Regions from separate parts of the Homo sapiens genome. Here region 1 is linked to region 2. The links are contacts of gene promoters, found by promoter capture Hi-C in blood cells and fetal thymus (Javierre and others, 2016). All regions are on one chromosome and are shown on one strand. The core of a region is centred on a gene start or on the middle of the fragment in contact, and the rest is flanking DNA. Distances in the headings are between cores, read along the strand shown.

Region 1 (4,124 bases), core at 1,183-3,682, 550 kb after region 2:
TCCAGTCTGGTTCTATTTGTCTCTCTGAGGCTATTCCTTAAAAGAAAAATCCCTCTACTGTAGCTCAGTAGGGCTCCAGGACGGCATGAAGGAAAGTGCATGAGCTCAATCTGCCATGTTTATTAGAGGCTGCTCCCATTGGGTTTTCTGATGTCACCTCAAATTCAACTTGACCCAGACCAATCCTCTCATCGTGTACTACAAATCGAGTTTCTGCTCCGTATATCCTGACTTCCGCCAGTGGCTTCTGCCACTCCGTTACCTAAGGCTGAAAGCCATAGTTTCCCTGTATATCTTTGTTTTTTTTGCCTCCCACCTGTGGAACCAGTCTCACCTCTTCTCTTCCTTTGTGGGTGGGGCATCCCTTCCATTTCCCTTCCTCTCTGTTCACAGCCACCACCCCCATCCAGCTTCTCACACCCAGGCCTGAATGAATGGCCTGTTGATTTTCAAGCTTGTCCCCCTCACATCTAATCTACAAATGCCTCTTATAAAAAAAAAATCATGATCATATCATTCCTCCACTCAAAAATATAGTTTTTATTTTTATTTATTTATTTATTTATTTATTTATTTATTTATTTATTTTGAGACAGAGTCTCGCTCTGTCGCCCAGGCTGGAGTGCAGTGGCGTGATCTCAGCTCACTGCAACCTCTGTCTCCTGGGTTCAAGCAATTCTCCTACCTCAGCCTCCCAAGTAACTGGGATTACAGGCACCCGCCACCACGCCCGGCTAGTTTTTGCATTTTTAGTAGAGACGGGGGCTTCACCACGTTGGCCAGGCTGGTTTTGAACTCTTGACCTCGGGCAATCCGCCCACCTTGGTCTCTCAAAACGTTGGGATTACAGGCGTGAGCCACTGTGCCCGGCCAAATACTAGACAAAATATTTCGTCTAGAGTAAAAAGTCCAAAGTTCTGAGTCAGGCCAGTGATTTTCCATAATCTGACTCCAATCTATGTCTCTGGGCCTAATTCTCCTACCATGACTGCTGGACACGGGCACTCTGAACAGATCAGCTCCTTTCAGACGCTGTGCCCTTCACGTGCTGTCCTCTCTGCTCAGGCACCTCTCAACATCCAGCTCAAGTGCTTCCCTGGTGTGAAGTTTCCCAGGTTACCCCAGGGAAGTTGCACACATCCTTTTCTGGGTTCCCATCCCCAAACTGAATGTTGTATTGTCATTCTTCTGCTTATATATCTGTCTATATCTATAAGCTTCATATATATATATGTCATTCTTCTGCTTATATATGTATCTGTTTGGAGTTCTTTGAGGAGACAGACTGTGTCTTATTCATCTTGTACTTTCAGAGCTCAGCTTGGTGCCTTGTATGCAGAAAGTTCTCAATAAATTTTGAATGTATGAATGATTAACCTCGGTTATACTTCATAATTTGTTGCTTTCTATTCTTTTCTATGCAGCTGCCTTCTCTGTCACCATATTAATAACAATTTTTATGGGAAAGACTTTTGTAAAATTAAACTCCTTGGGAGTGTCATAAGAAGACCCTTTTCTATATGGGGAGTGCTTACAGCAGAAGGGAGTCAAGCATATTCTTTTGTATGGGGCCTTATCTTGACTTATTTTACTTCTTTACATATCGGTGTTATTTTCTTTCTTTCTTTTTTTTTTTAATTTTTAAATTTTTTTAGACGGAGTCTTGCTCTGTCGGCCAGCTGATTCTCCTGCCTCAGCCTCCCCAGTAGCTGGGATTACAGGTGCCTGCCACCACATCTAATTTTTTTAAATATTTTTTTTTTAGTAGAGATAGGGTTTGGCCATGTTGGTCAGGCTGGTTTTGAACTCCTGACCTCAAGTGATCCGCCTGCCTCGGCCTCCCAATGTGCTAGGATTACATGTGTGAGCCACTGCGCCCGGACAACCTATCAGTGTTCTTTTTCCAGCTGCTCTGTTAGCCCCTCAGGGTAGGGCCTGTGCCTACTCATTGCTTTCCATATTACCTGTAACACCCAGCCCCAGGCTGGGTGTAGAATCGATGCTCAATAAAGGTTTGTGGATTGACTGGGTGCGCTCTGGGATAGGGAAAGATACACACGTCAGTTTGGGGTGATTCTCCAATGCGGAAGCAAAGTCAGGAAGCTGGGGGTGGGTCGTGGCAAAGGTGTGACAGCTGAGGACCAGAGCGGGTTGTGGGAGAGGGCACCCGGGGACAGCCAATGACAGCTGAGCAGTCTTTGCAAAGCAGGAAGCAAGAGAAGGATGAGGAAGGAATTCCACGGAAGAAGTAGGAGAGAAACTTGTGTGAATGGTGTAGTGGTTGGGTGGGGGTGGCGACTGCAATAGAGGAGGGGTGCAGGGAGGTGAGAAGGCTCCTGGGGTGAAGGCCTTAGCAGGTCTAACAGGCAGGCCAGCCCTGTGTTCCCTGCCACCTCCCTTGCCTCCTGTTCACACAGGTGCTCCACACTGCGGCCCATCTGCCAGAGCCGCCTTTGTCTTAACTATTGAGGAGCCCCTGAACCGCCTCATACCCTCCTTCAGTGTCACCAAGCCCAGGCCTCTGCTTGGGGATGGGATTCCCACCCGCTCTTGACTTCCCACTGCCAGCTGTGAGTCCCATGACTGTTTCTAGGCTGCCCTTCCCAGAAGGGGTCCCCTGTTCCTGAGTTCTCGGGGAGATAACAAGGAAGGAGACATCAGAACCAGGGGAACTGCTGAGTCTGCTGGAGAAGGGCTGGCTCATGTATGCACTCATAAAGAGGTATATAATCTGAGCCCATTCTGCCTTTTCCCTTGCTTTTTTTTTTTTTTTAATTGAGACAGAGTCTCGCTCTGTCTGCAACCTATGCTGCCTGAGTTCAAGTTATTCTCATGCCTCAGCCTCCCGAGTAGCTGGGACTAGAGGCGCACACCACCATGCCAGGCTTTTTTTTTTTTTTTTGTATTTTTAGTAGAGACAGGGTTTCGCCATGTTGGCCAGACTGGTCTCGAACTCCTGACCTCAAGTGATCCACCCGCCTCAGCCTCCCAAAGTGCTGGGATTACAGGCATGAGCCATCATACCCGGCCCCATGCTCCTTAAAAATACACTGAGGCACATATAACCATCACTGCTGAGAAAATTAATAATAAAACATTTTCTTGACATTCCTTGGCTATGTCCCACCTCCTCTCAACCTCTGGGGGTCTCCTCTCTCTCTCCCTTTGCTGCTTACTAAACTCACTGAAAGAGAGACGTACACCTGTGCCTCTACTTGCCCTCCACATACAGACTCCCTAACCCAGGAGTCCCCAACCCCCAGGCCGTGGACCTGCTCCGTGGCCTGCTAGGAACTGGGCCGCACAGCAGGAGGGGAGCGGCTGACAAGGGAGCATAACCACCCGAGCTCCGCCTCTGTCAGCTCAGCGGTGGCACTAGATTCTCACAGGAGTGTGAAGTCTATTGTGACCTGTGCATGCAAGGGATCTAGACTGTGTGCTCCTTATGAGAATCTAATGGCTGATGATCTGAAGTGGAACAGTTTCATCCCGAAACTATCCCCTCACCCCCACCCTGGTCCATGGAAAAATTGTCTTCCACGAAACCAGTCCCTGGTGCCAAAAAGGTTGGGGACCGCTGCCCTAACCCACCATTCTGCCCTCACTCTTCTTAGAAACTATTCTGTCCTAGGGCATCAGAAGCTTCCAGTTGCCAAGTCCATGGAAGCAGCTCCCAGGCCTCGAATTTTGGGAACCCTTTGGCCTCTGTCACAGTGAACCCTCAGGACTGCCCTCTCTTGTGGTTCTCCTTCCTTGCCATCCCCGGACTATCCCCACCTTCCTTTGTGGCCACATCTCCTGCCCCACCACCAGATGTGGGCCCAGATGTGCTTTGCCAATTTCCATCTGTCCAGTCCTGGGCATGGGAGCCACTTGATGTCCTGCCACCCCTGCAAACCCCTTTAACATTTTATCTTTTCCCTTGCTTGTCTTGAGCCCACAGGGGCTGAGAGGATAAGAATTATTCCTGTGGCACGGACCCCAAATCTTGGGGCCATTCTTCTTTTATTTATTGATTTATTTATTAAATCCCCCCTTTATTTATTTATTTATTTATTTATTTATTTATTTATTTATATATTTATTTATTTAAAGGCAGGGTCTCACTCTCTTGCCCAGGCTGG
Region 2 (4,369 bases), core at 21-2,520:
GTAAAGGCACAGTGCAAATAGTCATTACTCTCAGCCTCTCGGGCAGTTACACCGTGGTTTCACACACATACCTGTCTGAACCTATAGGAGAGCACGTTTCCCTTTGGGGGAGCACAGGGGCTTTGAAGGGAGTGGTTAGGGAAGCCGGGGGTAGGCCTCAGCTTCCTCATGTGACTGGGTAGCATGAGAGCCTGGAGCCAGCTACCCCAGTTCAAATTCCAGTTCCCTGCAGGGCCCGGTGGCTCACACCTGTAATTCAGCGGGAGGTTGAAGTGGGAGGATTGCTTGAGCTCAAAAGTTCAAGACCAGCCTGGGCAACATTGAGAGACCTCATCTCTATTTTATAAAAAAGTAAAAAAAAAAAAAAAAGAAAAAAAAATGGCTGAGCACAGTGGCTCACGCCTGTAATCCCAGCACTTTGGGAGGCCGAGGCAGGAGAATCACTTGAGGTCAGGAGTTCGGGACCAGCCTGGTCAACATGGTGAAACCCCGTCTCTACTAAAAATACAAAAAAATTAGCCGGGCGTGGTGGCAGGTGCCTGTAATCCCAGCCACTTGGGAGGCTGAGGTGGGGGAATCATTTGAACACAGGAGGCGGAGGTTGCACTTAGCTGAGATTGTGCCACTGCACTCCAGCCTGGGCAACAAAGCGAGTCTCAAAAAAAAAATAAATAGAATTCCAGCCCTCTCACTCACTAGCTGCCTGATCCTTAGGCAAATTATAATCTCTGTACCTCAATTTTCCGAAGTATAATGTGGGAATAACAAGAGCTCTACCTCATAGGGTTCATGTGAGGACTTAATGAGCTAGTCCATGTAAGGTGCCTAGACCTCTTAAGCACTCAAACTTTAGCTACAATTATTATTTATCTCAAGTTTGCCTTGGAGATGGTGTAACACGAACCAAACAGTCCAGGACACACTTTACAGCAGTGAAGGGGCAGAGGAAGCAAGATGGAGGGTGTCCTGTTCCCTCTCTCCATCTCCCCAGAGAGATCGCAGAGGTCCGACAGCTGGGGAGTACAAGGCAGGCAGCAGCACCAGCACCAGCACCCAACTAAGCCTTTTGTAAGAGGACCTACCTCCCAGCCGCACATGTGAGGCTGGCTGGGGCTTTCATGCTCTTTCCTGCCCATCAGGCTTCTTGTGACCCCGAGCTGACCTTCCCCAGCCCTGTGATTTCATCACACCTTGCACATCCTGGACCAGGGCCTTTCTTGATGGTGAGGTGGAACTTCTGGTGGTCAGGGAGGACTCTTGGCAGGATACTGAGAGTGCCAAGGTGGGGAGAACTTGTATGGGGCAGGGGGCATTGTGACACCTCTTTACAACACAATTCCTTCTGTCTTCCCAAGGAGACATGAGGCCAGGGCTGGGGACTGACGTTTCAGGACCTGGAAGGGTCTTTTAACCTTGACACTGGCCCACTATGCTATTCCCTCTTCCCACAAACCCATAGAACCCTAAAACTGTGGGCAGGAGGTGAATGGAGAGAGATCATCCTAATTATCAAGGTGCCTCCAGAAGTCCTAATATCCCCCCATGTCCCAATATCACTGTCAGGAAGGAAATGTACCTTGGCAACTCTTCATTCTATCTATCTATCTAATCTATCTATTTATTTATCTATCTATTTATCTATCTATCTATCATCTATCATCTACCACCTGTCAATCATCTATTTATCATCTATCTATCATCTATCTGCCTTCCAAATTACAGAGATGAGTGGATGAATGGATGGGTGGACATGAGTGGGAGGGTGGATGGACAGGTGGATGGACTGGGTTGGCAGATAGATGGTGGATGGGCCAACCCTTGTGATTTGAGCCCTGCTCATCTCCTTAGCCTCATCTCTTGCTATCTTTCCCTTGCTCTCTATGGAGTAGCTAGTTTCTTAGACATGCCCCACTCTCTCCCCTCTGAGCCTCTACATATGCCATTCCTTCTCATGGATTGCTTTGAACAGAGGGTTGGGAGATAAAGGGATGGATGAACAGGTGGATAGACAGATGGCTGAATAGGAGTGACCATGTGTGAGTGGATGGATGGATGGTCAGTAAATGGACAGATGGTGATGGCTGTGGTATAGAGGATTGCAGGTCTGGGAGTTAGAATGCCTGAGCTTGAATTCTGGCTGTACTACTTTACTAGTGTGTAACTTTGGGAAAATTAATTGACATCTCTATGCTTCTGTTTTCTCATCTGTAAAATGGGTAAAGTCCCTACCTAATAGAGTTGGGCAAAGCACTTAGGACAGTGCCTGGTACAGAGTAAGCATTGAGTAAACATCAGCTATGACTATGTGTGGGTGGGTAATTGGATTGATGGGTGGGTGGTTGAATGGGCTGTCCTGTCCCCATCTTCAAAAATCAGCTCCCCTACCTCCCTAGGGTCCTGTCTCCCCAATACCACACTTGGTAGGCAGCTTCCAGGAGTAATGTCAGAAATCCCACATGTAGGAATGACATGGGCTTCTCCCTTGGTTGAGGGGAAGGAGAGAGTTCCAGCGGGAGGTAGATAGAGCTATTGGGTGCCTTCCTGCCACACCAGCTTGGGCTGGGCCCGGAATTATTTGTTTTCTTCCTGGCCCTGAGTCAACGCTGACAAGATGCACTTTGGGGCCGAAGGCAGACTGGAAATTGGGGTGTTGATGACTTGTGTGCTGTCCCTAGATCTCACACCCTGATGGTAATGACCCCTAATTTCTAAGGAGGCTGGGAGGCACCAGGAGAGAAAGAGAAGGAGCAGCGGAGCATTAACTGGGCTTCCCCTGCCACAGCCTCTGACCGGCAATCTCCAAGCGCTCTGGGGAGGGTGGAGTCTTGTTTGGAAGGGAGGCTGGGGACATGGCATTCTGGACAGAGTGCCCAGCATCTCTGCATCTGGGGGAAAATGGCCTGAAGGAGCTATCAGGAGGGAGCCCAGGTGTCTGGGTGTGGGTTTGGGGGAGCCACGGCTTAGCACACATTGTACTTTGTCTCAGCCAAAGTGGGGTGAGGTGCTGGGCTGATAACCAGGAGAACTGGGTGACCTGAGACAAGTCCTGTCCCCTCTCCAGGCTCAGTGTCTTATGTGTATCATGAGGACATTGTGTCCCTCCACCTTGGATACTTGATGTCCAAGGTGGGGAGAACTTGTGTGGGGCAGGAGGCATTGACATCTGGTGGTAGGCCCCTGCCAGCAGTGTACCCAGCCCAGGCCATGTCAGCCTCACTGTGGGGAGCTCAAGAGGAGGCAGTGGCTGGGGAGATCGCCTTTAGGAAGTCCTGGCCAGATGAGCCATATCTGCCTTATTTCATTGGTAAATTTCATAATGGTTAAGATCATGACATCCAGACCCACTCTGCCTGGGTTTCAAATCCCAGCTCTGCCATTTCTCAGCTGTGTGACTTGCACAAATTACCTAACCTCTCTGTGCCTCAATTCCTAATCTGCAAAATGAGGATGATAATAGAATTTATCTTGAAGGCTTATGGGGACTTTGTGAGCTTAGAGCAGTGCCTACTACGTGGTAGATGCTGTGATTTATGTTATAATTTCTAAACCCTGATAACTCCTGATTTAATCCTGCCTCCTGGAGCACCTCCTTCTCTGACTTACCTGCCAACTCCAGGGATGACCTCATTTTATGCATCATCAAAGTCCCTGGAAGGTAAGGGCTGCGGTCAATACCCCACAGTGCTCAGTGGGTGTTTGGGAAGAAAGAGAAGAGACATGGAGACTCAGGGCTGACTTGGAGCACAGAAGGATCCTCTAACCACCCCCACACCTTGCACACACACAGCCTCCTTTCCTGCCTTCTCTGCTCTTAAGGTGCAGGTTAATGGTTTTTAAGTGTCCTGCTATTGCCTTGCCCTAAGTAGGCCTGGTTATCTGGACATTCTCTTTACCCCTTCTTACCTGCTGTGTAATTTGGACAAATTACTTAACCTCTCTGATCTTTACTTGTTTTTCCTTTGTTGGACCTCAAGTACACAGGGCTGAGTTATTCACATTCCTTGCTTAGCGATGCATTATCATCACTGTTCCTCCTCTCTTCTTGTGTTAATTTTTCTCCTTATCTCCATTTTCCGACCACACTTCCCACCCACCCCAGCCAAAGGCAACCATCTGAATCTGCTTAATGAGTATCTACTTGTTCATATGTGTTATTGCAAAATATATATTGTTGTTTTTATGCAGGTGGTTTTCATTTGCATAAGTGGTATTGTGTGTTTTGGGTCTCATTCTGTTATTTACTTGTGGGACTCCCTGCTGTTGATGAGACCCTCTGTGTTGCCACATAAGCATCTGCTTCCTCGCTTCCAGCTGCTGCGTCGTCCTCCTCGGAGTGCACCCACCCCATTTTACCTCTCTACTCCCCTGG

Evidence for each region. Contacts are between HindIII fragments. The CHiCAGO score rates a contact against its expected background, and 5 or more counts as called.
Region 1: a contact is called between a fragment that was not itself captured here and the fragment with the promoter of CIMIP3 in region 2, in 1 of 17 cell types (activated CD4 T cells). The highest score is 6.2, in activated CD4 T cells.

Annotation. Positions count from the first base shown.
Region 1 is chr6:41,607,116-41,611,239 of GRCh38, reverse strand. No RefSeq gene overlaps it. Among named protein-coding and RNA genes, the nearest start is that of MIR4641, 10 kb to the right of the region's middle. The HindIII fragment of the contact is 2,425 bases long and covers 1,220-3,644 here.
Region 2 is chr6:42,152,307-42,156,675 of GRCh38, reverse strand. CIMIP3 (ciliary microtubule inner protein 3) reads right to left here and starts at 1,270. Exons shown (of 2, transcript NM_001384994.1): 1 at 1,191-1,270. The coding sequence starts at 1,199. It overlaps GUCA1ANB-GUCA1A (GUCA1ANB-GUCA1A readthrough), which reads right to left and starts at 1,270. Exons shown (of 5, transcript NM_001319062.2): 1 at 1,083-1,270. The HindIII fragment of the contact is 11,083 bases long and covers 1-4,369 here.